3 separate regions of the Homo sapiens genome follow, and all the other regions are linked to region 3. The links are contacts of gene promoters, found by promoter capture Hi-C in human tissues and cell types (Jung and others, 2019). All regions are on one chromosome and are shown on one strand. Each heading gives the region's core, a stretch centred on a gene start or on the middle of the fragment in contact. The rest is flanking DNA. Distances are from core to core; before and after follow the strand shown.

Region 1 (4,806 bases), core at 108-2,607, 350 kb before region 3:
CATGCGGTAATGAGGCTCACAGAGAGACCAGGTTTCCTATTGTCTCAGGCTTCTTCTCCCACTTAGAGAGCTTATTAATTTCAGCATCAAGATGCCAAATCAGCTCTTGATCAAGGATCAAGACTGATTTTTTTTCCCAACTTCAAGATAAGTTTGCAAGTGACATGTGTGAAGCAATCCACCTAGCTCTTCCTCCCCCTCCCTGCCCATCAGGAGGGAGGCCATCTGACTCAACACTTGAACGGAATGTGCTGGAGCAAACAAAGGGAGCTGCGGTCAAGTGGTGGGGCTGCGTGTTCCTCCACCTGAGGCTCCCTGAACACCAGCTCAAGATTCAGCAAGGTCCAATTCCGGGTTTAATTGCTTTCAGCAGCAAAAAAGAGAACTAGAAATGAAAAGATAATGAATTGAGAATATTAGCTTATTTGATGGTTCTAAACTTGAAGGATGGGATGGAGTGGGTGTAGGAAAAATAGAATGGATGGGGAATGTGAAAATCAGACCTTTAACTCTTGGTTGTAATAGGCATCTAAAAGGATTTACTTCAAGATAAACTCATTATGTTCTTGAGTTGCACTTTAAGTCACAGCACAATCAGCTCCAGGGGCACCGCCCAGGGAGGACTATTTTCACCCTAAATTGATTCTGTACGGAATAAAAATGCCTGGGGACAGAAGCTGCTTAGGATGCGCCCCTGTGCTCATGAAACTATGACTGATTCTGGGACTAAGGGATGTGACGGGAAAGGGACAGGAAGAAAAAAGGAAATGGGAAATCAAGAGCAAAAAACAGCAAAGGACAATAAATCAATTCAAGAAGATATTACCATCACTCCCAGGGAGTGCAAGGTTTCTAAGGAGCAAGCTGGCTCTCCTCACTGCACAGTCAGAGCAGCCTTTCCACTCCTCAGGGAATGAGTTGACTCCTAACTCCCACCCCACTGAAGAGGATCAGAGATGTGCCTCTAGAAGCTAGGAAGATGCAGGGATTCCGCTGCAGGCGTGAAGCTGGTGAGGCTGAAGGAGCTGCAGGGCTCAGAGCGGCACAGAGTGCCAGGCCCAGCTTTCGCCCCAGCAGCAGACCTACCCTGGGATGGCAGTTCCAGGATGCAGGCTGCTCCCACCTGGAAGGAAAGCTTGGAGAAGAGGGGCAGAGTAGATTTGGGGTCTCATGTCTGGGGAATGCTGTTGTGCTGAGTTTTAGCTCTTAGTCCTAAAGTAACCAGCAACAGCTTCTTCTCCTAGAGGTGATACAGCTTTTCTCAAATAAGCATGGTCAAACTCTTAGAAATTGGAATCATCTAGTTTCAGAATCAGAAAAGGCCCTTTAAGCCATTAGTCTGGCAACTCTTAAGGTTCTTCGGGTCACAGATTCCTATTAGAACCTATGAATGGTTCCTATTAGAAAAAGGCACATGTGCACCTGCCTGCACACAAACAATTTTGCTTTGCACTTGTGAGGGTTCATGGCACCGATGCCCATCTAAGACCTGCCGTGGAGTCGACATATGCCATATCAGGAACCCAGCACTTTCACTTTGCTGTTGAAGAAGCCAAGGCATGAAGAAGTGCCAGGCACCTGGTCTCCAGGCCTAGAAGCAGATTCCCCTCCAACCAGGAGGGTGCTGAGTCCTCTCTAGCACACCGTCTTTCTGCTTCTTGACCCTCTGGAATTGTTGCTGACTTTGCAGCAGAGGAAAAGGTTACTGGCAAAGAGAAACACATCTAGTAAAAATACCATCTCTAGTGCTGGCACAGTTAAAGAATTATCTTAACCTGGCAGGGTGACAGAGAAAAGAGCAGAGATGCCTCAACTCTGCTTGCCATTAGCAAATCATCTGTAATTTAGAACAAACGTAAAGGGATGCGGGTGATCAGGCAGACGTACCTCCTGGCAGCCTCTTGTAATTTCACGGGCTGTTTGACACTGAGGTAAATCAAGCAGGCATCAGCCACTTTATTCAGGTCACCCTCACCTGCAGAAAAGAAAAACAAAACAAGCATCAGCCCTTACACTTCATTTGGGACAAGCAGTGACCAACTGTGTCTGGAGAAACTGCAACAGCTAGGCAAGATGCTCTGGGCTCTCTACTCCATCCCGCCAAAGAACACATCAAGATAAATGGACAAATGAGGCCAAAATAAGACGGAAGGAGGTACACAGAGGGGAGGGGAGGGGGGCACGACTGAGCAGAGGGCATGATGGCAGGGGTGAGACAGATGCTAAGTGTGTGTGTTCAGGTGGAACTGCCTGGTACCCACCTAGGTCCAGTCTCTCACAGAGGGGGCCCAGGCCCTGTAAGACAGCCAGCTGCAACTTGAAGGCCAGCGTGTGCGAGTAAACTGGTCCAGCCCTGGCACTGATGGGGGCCTGGGTGACTAGGGAGCCAGCCAGCTTTGGCAGGACATCTTTGCAGAACCGGCTGCGAAGAAAGTCACCACACTTGCTTCCCAGGGTACGTAAAACCTGCAGAAACAGCCTCCAACCTGGTGAGTGAACATTGCCAAGGCAGCAAGAGAGCTAAAGAATGCTTGGTAATTCGATTTCATCTAGGTCTCTGCTTGGGGGAAAAAAAAAATAGAATTACTGCTGTTAATTCCTTGCCCATGGTTTGTGATTCTGACAGTTATGAATTTGGAGGTCTCTGCTCCCAAGGCATGGCTGCTTCTACCCATAAATACAGATTACATGGGGAATAATTCAAAGGAATCTTGGGTTGGATGAATAATATGATTAATATCTTGATTTCCCTCCCATTTTTGTTAAAAAAAAAAAAAAGAGAAGAGCTTAAAGCAGTTCACATAGATCATTTCTTGAATCTTCCTAACATCCCTTGAGAAAATATGTATGCTTTAAACTCTAGCTAGCTGAGCAAACACAAATACTATGGTCCAGCTGCTGCCACATGCAGGCATCAGGAGGTTAGTGACTGGGCCGAGGTCCCTGGGCTGAACCAAGGCAGGGTCCCTGAAGTTGCAGCCGACTCGGTGTTCCTTCTGTTCAGCTGCACAATCTCTTATGCACATCACCCTCATTCTATCTTTCAGAACAGATAGTTTCTTTGCATGTCTTGTTTTAAACTTTCTCTAGCAGAACATATTGAAATGTTTTGCCCTGCTGCACAAGACTGAGTATACAGGATAATAGGAATTTCTTTAAAAATTGGTAAGCAAGGCATAACCAGCACAGTGTTTGCTCATTTTGCAGAGAACAAGGCTCTCATTTTAGGTCCCTCAGCTGAATGGCACAGCTTCTATAGACCTCAGTGTCATCATCGTGTCTGCGCATGGGGAAAGCAGCCTCAGTTATTGTGTACACATCTTTATTTTTTTTCATTTTTCTATGCTTGCTGTTATTTCAGACAACCTATTAATTCTCACCAAACCCCGCCCTGCAGTACATCTGGATAAGATTTAGCAATACCACCTCCCTCTCCCTTAATCTCTTTCTTTTTTCGAGATGGAGTCTCACTCTGTCGCACAGGCTGGATGGAGTGCAGTGGCACGATCTTGGCTCACTGCAACCTCTGAAGCCCGAGTTCAAGCAATTCTCCTGCCTCAGCCTCCTGAGTAGCTGGGATTATAGGCGCCTGCCACTGCGCCCAGGTAATTTTTGTATTTTTAGTGGAGACAGGGTTTCACCATCTTGGCCAGGCTGGTTTTGAACTCCTGACCTTGTGATCCACCTGCCTCCGCCTCCCAAAGTGCTGGGATTACAGGCATGAGCCACCGCGACTGGCCTAATCTCCCTCTTTCTTTGGCACACATACATACACACACACACGTATCATTTTGTGCATTTTGTTTTGGGAAAAAAACATTAACAATTTTTAATATTTTAATTTGGTCTAGTATATGCTGAAGAATTTACAGAAGATCAAACTACTTTGGCCAACGGTATCTGGTGCATTACCAGCTTCATTTTGTGTCCCTACAGATCTTTTCTCTCTGCCTCATCTTGCGCACCTTCTTCTAATTTATGGCAGCTCGCTGTGGTATGTATCTCTGCAGGTTGCCTTAAGGGCTTTTTAGAACAAGAAAGGATATAAATAAGCTAAAATATCCGTGCTAATGTAAGCCAAACTAAGCCAGGGAGAATAATACCTTACATATATATAGGACTGTTAGCTTTTCAAAGCATTTCACCAAACAGTCCCATTTTATCCCTGACAACACTATGAGAAAGGTGGGCTAGGTGTTCCTAAGCCCAACACGAAAATGGGTGGTCCTGGGTTTTGTCAGCATCACTCAGCTGGGCAGAGGATGCCCACTGCTAGAACCTCAGCCCCTTCGCCTTGACTCCTGTGCAGTGCAAATATGGTGTGAACTCAATGCTCTGGGTTTGTATCACTTACTAGCTGTTCGATTGTGAGAAAATTCCTTAACTTCTCTGAGCTTCTTTCTTCCTCTGCCAAAAGTAAAGACAATATACCTACCTTGCAAAGTGGTTGTAAGGAGACAAACTCCTTTGTGGAGGAGTGCTGAGCTTACTGCCTGGCCTTTTCATCTACTAGTTCATCTGCTTCAAGTTCAAAAGGAGACTGTTACTTTCTTCTTTGTGCTTTTCTTATGTTTCTATACTTTCTTCACAGTATGTGACATTGCAATCGGGTGAAGAGAACCAATCCAAAAGGCCCCGGTGAGCTCTGTGCCTACTAACTCTACCCTCACAACAGACCATGGGGGATGCTGGTGCAGTACCTTGAAGGCTCTAAGCACTGCCAGGGGGGCGTCCCGTGTGAGTCGGTGAACGAGCGAGGGCCAGGCCTGATGAGCCAAGGGAAGCAGCTGGTTTTTGTGGGACTGA
Region 2 (4,674 bases), core at 1,312-3,811, 500 kb before region 3:
GGATAATAGAGAAGATGACTTTCATCGTTGCATATATTGTTACAACACTGTGGTTTATTTATCCTTGTATAGTTATTATTTGCATTGACAGGCAAAGCAGTTGAAGCTTAGAGACATTATGTAACTTACCCAAGAAAGGTTTAAGACTGTCTCTTTGAGCTATCTCTGACCATTTTTTCTACCCTCACCAGGAGTATAGCATGATGAAGAGGTCATCAGGTTAGGACACGGAGATCTTAGTAGTCACGTCACCCTAGTGACATCAGTTAACATCTGTGCTTCGGTTTCCTCATCTTTGAAATGGGGTTTGCTACCTGTCTTCCCTGCACACCTTGTCAGGTTTTTTTTAAGGTTTAAGGAAATAATGGTCATGAAAATACTTTATAAGCTGCAACATTAAGGTCTTAGGGTCATCAGTGTTGGCTAAAGAAGGTTTGACCACAGTCTTCTCAGACTGTCTGATGGCATGTTGCAGGAACATCACCTATTAAGCAATCAGTATCAGCACCTGGGTAAATGAATGCCAGAGTTGCCAAGGGCTGTGGTGGTGCCAACCTGATAAAAAGATAAGTCAGGAGTCTGGGCTGGCTTCACAGTGTTTCTTCAGTCATTTTGGAGTCTTGGGGAAAAAACAAAACTTTTTCAAATCCACTGAGTGTTCCTCAAGCCATGTTTGAAGCATGACTTTGCTCAACTTAAAACTGATTTTTAAGTTATTGCCAAGCAAAAGTCAGGGCCTTTTTTAAAGTTGCTGAAGGAGGTTTTCTTGCTCTCTCTTCTGACTCAAAAGCAACTAAAAAGATTTTACTCAGGCATTTTTAAAAAAAGATCAGCTCTGGGGCAGAATCTGAACATGAAAGGTTTCAGTTTGAAAAAAGAAATTTCTGTAAAGTTCTAAGTGAATATCAAGTGTGTAACTTCAAGCTCCTTCTCTTGGCAAGAAGGGACTTGAATTTTTATCTATTTATTTGTTTTTAACAACGTGCATTCCTGGGAGTTCTAGAAGGGCTGAGAATGCATAGCCTCCTTTCGGGAATGGGCCTGGTTCAAACTGCATTCATCCTAAGTGTTTGCTTTGTTCTGCCCCAGCCCTTTGATCCATTCCTGATGTGTCCCTAAGCAAAGCTTCTCTCATCCGCTGTAAGGAGTGCCAGAGCGGGTCTCCCTTTGTAAGGGAGCGACAGTGAGATGAATAGGAGTGCCACTGTTCTCTTGCTGTGCGTTGTCTTTCCTTCTCACTCAAGCCTGTGAAATCTCTCTTTCAGGTTGACAGACTAATGGAGTTGCATTTTAAATATCTGGGTGCAATGCAGGTGGCGGACAAGAAGATTGAAGGGGAAAAACACGTATGTATCCCTGCCTCACTTTTGCCAGCTATTGACTTGCCCTCCGTTTGGGTCCCTTGTGTTCCTCCCATCACCCCACAGGATAGGTAAGGGCAGCAGTGCCATCTAACATGTTATAGAAGTAGAGCAGATGATGGTCTGCCAAGTGGTTACGACTGCTCTTCTGACACGAATGACACCCTTTCAGGAAGAAGTATGTGTAGCGTCCATCCAGGTCTGACCTGGGAGTCTGGGTGGACAGCACAGGCACCCTTGACAAGAGCTTCTCTTCGAAAATCTGGCCAAAGTACAAGGCTGTGACCTGGTACCATGTTGGCAGAGCATGTCTTAGTACTCACACTTGCTGGCTTCTGAAATCCTGAAGGAGGCATGCTGAGGAAGGGTGATCACAGCGTAGAGGAGCTGGAAGGAAACTGAATGGTCCTGGAATCCAGTTACCCCATTTACAGATGGAAAACTGGAGACCTAGAGAACGGAAGCTCAGATGCATTGCAGCCAAGCCAAACCGCAGGTTCTGAAGGGCTGACCCTTGTTTTCTCATGTTGATTGTTGCTAAGAGAAGTGACACCTGCTGGATGTTTTTTCTGGAGGGGCTGTGCTTACTATGGTGTTATCCCACCCTCTGTGTTTTTCACCTCCTTCCGTTTTGTTCTCCACCATCTCTGGCCACTGTAGCTTTCCATCTGTATTCCTTAATCAGGGTAAGTTTTCCTATCACTGTTTAATGTCCAATTTGTATTCGCTCCCCTACAAGACACTTCTCAAGTCTTCAGTCACATTATAAAATGACGCCTGGCTTACTTTTTTCCAAGTCTACAGGAGACCTCATTTTCCTTGTGATCTTGTTTTGCTGCATCACTCCATCCTTTTCAGTCTTTTCTTAAAGATACACTTGAGGCTTTTGAACTTCACTGGTGGAAGGACTGATTTTAGTATAGCCCTCCCCACCTTCCCGTGTTGGGATCATCCAGCTAAGGCTACCGTGTTGCACTGGGAATTACACCAGCATTTTCCCTCGGGGCATGCCTCAGGCCAGAGTGAGAGACTAGGGCTGTGGGGATGTGGGGAGACAGTGACCTTGTTATCTGTCCTGTTTCTCTTTGCCACTTCTTATCCACCTCTTCCCTTTCATAAAATGTGGCAAGATTACCTTTTCTACTAGACTGCTGCACCTCTATCTAGAAGACCAGTCAGTCACTGACCAACCTATCACTGCGCTTTTAATTCATTCCATCGTCCAAAAATGTCAGAGTTACCAAAGGTTGTTTAACTTAACCTGAGGGAATGAGGGAAAACATGAAGCTTGAGGGGTTGGATCACCTTGGCTAGTATCATTCATGAACACCAGCAGATAGGTAGCTGTGCTTTTCATTCTTGTGATTTCCCTATGATCCCTAAACTGAGTAAGTCCTCAGAAGTTTGCGGATTGATTGAATTGATTAACTGGGGCTTTCTTCTTTTATACAGTGATACTACTGCAAGATAAAAGGCAGAGACTCTAAATTCTGAGGCTGCACTTTAGATATTAGCATGTTCCACCACAATTCTTTCATTCCAATTCACCCCAACCCCTTTGTTCTTTAATTAAACTTTCCGTTTCCATCTTTTCTACCCTATACAGTAACTTGGACGTGAAGGACACTCAGTGGTTGTTAAATTGTGGGAATAATGTACTCCTTCTCTTTATCTGAATGATAATTAGAAACAACTTGAAATTCCCTGGACTTTTGTAAGGAAAAAGCCATGAGACAGTTAGAACTCCAGCCCTGACAGAATCCCCGATGTTATCTGCTAGGGAGGTTTTGAGGGGTGGCAAAGAGAAGACCTGGGAGTCAGGGGACCTAGGATTTAAGAGCAAGCACCACCTTTAAATCACTGCTTGTCACTATGCCTCATGTAGCCTCAGTTTCTGGCCTATAAAGTGATACTAGCCAAGGTGATCCAACCCCTCAAGCTTCATGTTTTCCCTCATTCCCTCAGGTTAAGTTAAACAACGTTTGGTAACTCTGCCATTTTTGGACAATGGAATGAATTAAAAGCGCAGTGATAGGTTGGTCAGTGACTGACTGGTCTTCTAGATAGAGGTGCAACGGTCTAGTAGAAAAGGTAATCTTGCCACTTCTAGCTCTGAGATTTTGGATAATCGAGGTGACCTTCCTAAGCTTTGTTTTCTCATCTGTAAAATTAGAATAAAAACACCTCCCTTTTGGGCCAGACACAATGGCTCACACCTGAACTTTGGGAGGCCAGACATCCCTACCTTTTTAGGGTAGGCCAAAAATTTTGGGAGGCCAAGGCGGGCAGATCACTTGAGGTCAGAAATTTGAGACCAGCCTGGCCGACAAAGCAAAACCCCCATTTCTACTAAAAATACAAAAATTAGCTGGGCATGATGGCGCACGCGTGTAATCCCAGTTACTCGGGAGGCTGAGGCACGAGAGTCACTTGAGCCTGAGAGGTAAGGGTTGCAACAAGCCGAGATTGTGCCACTGCACTCCAGCCTGGGTGACAGAGCGAGACCCTGTCTCAAAAAATAAAAACAAAACACCTCGCGTTAAAGGTTATTATGAAGACTAAGCATAAAGTATAGAAAGTACTTTGCTCAGTAAGTAGAAGCTCCCGCCGCTGCTGCTGCTAGAATTTCCTAGCTTCCTTTGGAATTCTTGTGTAATTTTTTAGTAAGCCTTTTAGTAAGCCTTTTTAGTAAGCAGTCCTTTTCCTGAGAGCGTCCTCCTTGCCAGAAGGAGTCGCCTAGCAGAAGAGAGGGTTGGCACCATCAGATGCTTTATTTGAGGTGCAGCTTAGACTTTTTTTGAGGGAGACCTAGTAAGTGGCTGGGTGTCAGGGAGCAGTTTGCACATAGCTGTTAGGAAACTTGGCCTGCTTCCCAAAAGATTATCTATTATCAGCATTGAAGAGGGTGTGAAATTGATTAGCACTGACGGAGAGTAATCGCTGCAGCCACTCTCCCAGCATTCACAGAGCTGCTGTGTGCCACGGGCACCAAGGCCGTGCTGTTCCCTGACAAACATCTGTCTCCTTGATGCCAAGGCCGTTTTGCTGGGCACTGGCAAACATTCCAAGGCCATTAGTGCTCAGCAGCCTCAGTGTTACGCAGAGAGCCAGGGCAGGTAGGGGTGAGGGATGCGTTTGTGAGCAGTGTTTGCTGCTAGCACTCAGGCGCCATCCTAGCAGATGAAGCCGCCTCACAGGTGTAAAGTGACTTAGAACAATACGACCTCCTTTTCACCTCTGCCTCATGCCGTCTTCTCTCTGAGGTTGCAGACAGTTTGTCTCCTTGCCCCCATTAAATTTGAATGTCCTACAC
Region 3 (4,861 bases), core at 1,080-3,579:
TCTCCTCCCCTCCTGGGCAGGCTGAGGTCCAGGAAGCAAAGGCCCCTAGGCACACTGGGGATGCACCTGTGAGCCCTTTCCTGCTCCAAAGCCTCCCAAAGGCTGGCTCCTTACCCTGAGGCCTCTGCTCAGCTTGTTGCCTCCCAAGAGAACCCTGCCCTGACCAGAGTTTTGGAATGGCATCCTGCAGACCTGGACTTAAATTCCTGCTGGGTGACTGCAGCCTACATCACTTCACCCTGCCAAACCTCAGTTTCTTCATCTCAAGACAAGACTAAAATATCCACCTGGGGTTGCTGATGCAAGGATGAGAGGAGACGTGCAGCTTAACCAGCACAGCGCCTGCACATAGTAGGTGCTCAATAAATATCAGTTTCTTTCCAATTTCTGCTGGGTGCTGCAAGGATCTCAGGAAATGGAAGACTCAGCCGTGCCTGCAAGGAGCCATCAGACTGGTGGTGTGGGGACTGAGGGGAGGGACGGATGAGGATCCCAACAAACCTCAGCCCCAGTGACAGGAGCAACACGGTACAGAGGAGCAGAGAGGCCTGGACTGTGGGGTTCCCTGTGCTTAACGTGGGACATTCTGATCTTAACCTCAGTGCCTGCCAGTGCTGTTTGTGACCTATTGGGAGTCACCCTGTTAATCCCACCACATTCAGTTGGTTGAGGCCATCATGAAAACCTGCCCAATTTCAAGGGAAGGGGGCAGAAACATTACCTTTTGATGGAAGGAATATCAAAGAATTCGTGGGCATATTTTTAAAGGACCACAATTATCAAAAAGCAGAGTGGTTAATGCTGTGGTGGGGAAAGCGCAAAGGGTTCTGGGACCTCAGAGGGGACCCTTTCTAGAATCCAGAGAAGCATGGGAGTGGTCAGGGAAGGCTTCCTGGGGGTGAGGGCAAAGCAGAACTCACAAATGTAAGCAGGGCTGGGGCAAAACTCTAAAAATTAAACACAGTCTGTACTATAAATTTTGTTTTCCAGAATGAAATTTTACTATCTTTACTTACTGCGAATATATGCCCGGGACCATACCCCCAAGAAAATAAAAATTTTAGAGGCTGGGCATGGTGGCCCAAGTCTATAATCCCAGTATTTTGGAAGGCCAAGCGGGAGGCTTACTTGAGCTCAGGAGTTCGACACCAGCCTGGGCAACATAGCAAGACCTCGTCCCTACTAAAATACAAAAAATTAGCTGGACATGGTGGCTCACACCTGTAGTCCCAGCTACTTAGGGGGCTGTGGTGGGAGGATCACTTGAGCCCAGGAAGTTGAGGTTGCAGCGAGCGATGTTCATGCCACTGGACTCCTGCTTGAGCAACAGAGTAGACTTTGTCTCAAAAAATGAAAAAAGAAAAAAAAATTGTACGTATCAACAAGCAAAAACTTTTTTAACACTTATAATTCTACCCCCACAACCAGAGACAATGCCTCATGACTCCTTGCTAAATATTTTCCAGATTGTTGAACATAGAAGCCTATTTTGAACCCCCCAAAATAGAACCTTACTCTATGGTGCCATCGGAAACGGATGCCTCATGACATCCCTTTCCTTGCCAAGAAATACCTTTATTTCTGCAGCCTCACTTTAAGGGGCATGTCATAATTCATTTAACCAATGCCCTTCTGGTGGATACATGAGGTTGGGTCTCACTTCTCCTGTCCTGTTTCCCACAGCATAGCAGTGGTATCTTGGAGCAGTGATTTACTGGCACACTGACTCAATTATGTATTTAAGGGCAAGTCCCTGAAATTGAATTCCTGGGTCACAGGGCATGCAACTGTTTAAACATTTGCCAATTGCCTTCCAGAAAATTTCACCACCAGCAAGGTTTGAGAAACACTGTTTTCCCATTGGGGGAAACATTTATTTTTTAAATAAACGAGCCAATATATTTTAAAAAAGAGAGTTTGGTTGGTGCCAGATGTAGCTTCACTCTCAACCCTGCCCTCTGCTGGGGGTGAGATCTCAAGGGAGCTATGTGGCTTTTTTGAACCTCAGTTTCCTCATCTGCTAAACCAGGCCTTCCTAGCCGAGCTCTTAAGAGACTGGCTGAGATGAGGCAAGATGAACAGTGATGAATATGGGGTCTTTCTGTGGGGAGGGTGGACAGGGATGATCATAGGAGTCAGGCTTCCTCATCCACTGATCTGGGCAGTGAAAACTGGCTTCTAAGTATGACCTTATGACTTCAGTGATGTCGCAAGCAGGTTCCAGTCCCTGTGCCTCCCCTTCCCGCTCCCAGGAACCCATCCAGCCTCAGGAACTGCCCCCAGCCATCGAGCCTTGGCTACTTAAGGGACCTGGGCCCAATCCACAGCTGGGACAGTCCTGGCCCACTGCACTGGGAATCTAGGATGGGGGCCTTGGCCAGAGCCCTGCCGTCCATACTGCTGGCATTGCTGCTTACGTCCACCCCAGAGGCTCTGGGTGCCAACCCCGGCTTGGTCGCCAGGATCACCGACAAGGGACTGCAGTATGGTAAGAAGCCACATCTGCTGGCTGGACTTGGCAAACCCACGCTCCAGGCTGCTCTGGGTACAGTGGGGACAGGGAGTGGGGACACAGACCGGACCCTCTCCCTGGGGCAGTGCCACCTTCTGGGTCAGGTGGCTCTGGCTCCTATTCTGGCCTTACTGCCCACCAGCTGAGTGCCCTGGGCATGTTATTTGTGGTAGTGAGGTCCTCCACCAGCCAACAGAACACAGCTTTGCGTGCAAGTAGTTGATTTGGGAAATGATTCCAGGAAACACTGTAGGGAATCGGTACTGAGATGAGGAAGGGAGGGCAGCCAGGAGAGAGTGTGCAATTAAACCAGCCACCACCTCTGATGATGGGAACCACTCAGCTGGGAAAATTCTGCGTAAAGTTTGGAAACACATGCCTCTGAACTGGAAGTCAGAATTGTGGTCACCTCTAGAGGCAGGCAGAGACCCTGAAGGGCATGAGGGAGGTCTGCCGGGGTGCTGGAAGTTGCCATATCTTGATCCAGGTGGTGATCACATTCCTGTATAAACATTAAAAATTATTTAGCAATACCTTTAAAATTTGTGCCCGTTAGGTACTTTATGTATATTATTCCTCAATTTTAAAGAATGGGCAGGCCAGGCACAGTGGCTCACGCCTGTAATCCCAGCACTTTGGGAGGCCGAGGTGGGTGGATAGCTTCAGGCCAGGAGTTCGAGGCAAGCCTGGCCAACATGGTGAAGCCTCGCCTCTCCTAAAAATACAAAAATTAGCCAGTCTTGGTGGCAGCCAACTGTAATCCCAGCTACTTGGGAGGCTGAGGCAGGAGAATCGCTTGAACCCGGGAGGCAGAGGTTGCAGTGAGCCGAGATCATGCTGCTGCATTGCAGCCTGGGCAACAGAGGGAGACTGTCTCAAAAAAATAAATAAAAATAAAACAAAGAATGAGCAAAAGTAGGAGTATTTTTTTTTAAATACTGAAACAAAGCCTCCCGACTATCCAGGTGGCATGGGAACTGGGATATTTATACACCACAGTGATTGATTGAGGGCTTCTGGGCCGGGGGTTTGTCAACTCCCCAGCACTTCTGTCCTGTTGCATGTACCTGCTTTCTGCAGTTCCAGGACAAAAAGCCTCGGGACATACAGGCTCAGGGAGGCAGACATTGGCAGCTGGGAGTCAACTGTCACTCACTGGAAAGACTCAAGGATATGGACAGGCACTGACCACATGTCTTCTCACATCCCTAGAGCCTCAATTGCCTTACCTATTAAATGAGATAACAACATTCCCTTAGATAGGGTTGTTGGGAGCCCAGACTGGCTCGAGACAGGCAGAGGGAAATCAGGGAAGGATTCCAGGATATAGTAAAATGGAAAAGACAGTGGGAATTACCCAGGGACAAGGGGTAGCGTTCCAGGCGGAAGGACCCCAACATGTGCGTTTGCTAGAGGGAGAAGAGCAAATTGGAAAGAGGTGAAAGGGGAGGCTGCTGGTCATCTGTGTACCCATGTCTGCCTTGGGGACAGAAACCTGGGCCCCTCAGATCTCGGAACAGTGGGACCTGGTAACTGCTACTTGCATTGAAACTGTAAATCAGGGAAGTTTCTCTTTTGTTCCTTTGCACTGTGCACACACACCATGTTTATGTAACCAGTCCTCTGAGGTTGGACATTTTGGTCCTTTCCATATTTTTTTTTTTTTTGAAACGGAGTCTCACTCTGTTGCCAGGCTGGAGTGCAATGGCACAATCTCAGCTCACTGCAACCTCCGACTCCCTGGTTCAAGTGATTCTCCTGCCTCAGCCTCCCGAGTAGCTGGGATTACAGGCACATGCTACCACGCCCAGCTAATTTTTGTATTTTTAGTAGAGACAGGATTTCACTATGTTGGCCAGGATGGTCTCGATGATCCACCCGCCTCGGCCTCCCAAAGTGCTGGGATTACAGGCGTGAGCCACTGCGCCCGACCCCTTTCCATATTTTTAATAATATAAACCCTATTTGCTGTTCCAGGCATTTACTGAGTGCCTGCTGTGTGTCAGGCACCAAGCTAGGAGTGCTTGTTATCCTCACAGCCCCCTTCTTGCTTTGCAGTTTCAATGGCATGCCAATGAGGAAAGTTTAGTTTAGTTTAGTTTAGTTTAGTTTAGTTTAGTTTAGTTTTGTTTTGTTTTGTTTTGTTTGAGACAGAGTCTCACTCTGTCGCCCAGGCTAGAGTGCGGTAGTGCGATCTCGGCTCACTGCAATCTCTGCCTCCCGGGTTCAAGTGATTCTCCTGCCTCAGCCTCCTGAGTAGCTGAGACTACAGGTGCCTGCCACCATGCCCGGCTAATTTTTGTATTTTTTAGCAGAGATGAAGTTTCACCATATTGGCCAGGCTGGTCT

What was found. The method cuts DNA at HindIII sites, captures the fragments that hold promoters and counts their contacts. A contact is called where the count stands out against the background at its distance.
Region 1: a fragment that was not itself captured here is called in contact with the fragment with the promoter of LBP in region 3 in 1 of the 25 tissues and cell types used here (mesenchymal stem cells).
Region 2: a fragment that was not itself captured here is called in contact with the fragment with the promoter of LBP in region 3 in 3 of the 25 tissues and cell types used here (IMR-90 fibroblasts, dorsolateral prefrontal cortex and pancreas).

What each region holds. Positions count from the first base shown.
Region 1 is chr20:37,994,488-37,999,293 of GRCh38, forward strand. TTI1 (TELO2 interacting protein 1) reads right to left here. Exons shown (of 8, transcript NM_001303457.2): 5 at 4,701-4,806; 6 at 2,262-2,466; 7 at 1,888-1,975. Among named protein-coding and RNA genes, the nearest start is that of TTI1, 37 kb to the right of the region's middle. The HindIII fragment of the contact is 9,453 bases long and covers 1-4,806 here.
Region 2 is chr20:37,841,074-37,845,747 of GRCh38, forward strand. It overlaps CTNNBL1 (catenin beta like 1), which reads left to right. Exons shown (of 16, transcript NM_030877.5): 13 at 1,266-1,346. Among named protein-coding and RNA genes, the nearest start is that of VSTM2L, 60 kb to the right of the region's middle. The HindIII fragment of the contact is 3,893 bases long and covers 616-4,508 here.
Region 3 is chr20:38,344,153-38,349,013 of GRCh38, forward strand. LBP (lipopolysaccharide binding protein) reads left to right here and starts at 2,330. Exons shown (of 15, transcript NM_004139.5): 1 at 2,330-2,488. The coding sequence starts at 2,365. RefSeq lists an enhancer at 1-383. The HindIII fragment of the contact is 17,182 bases long and covers 1-4,861 here.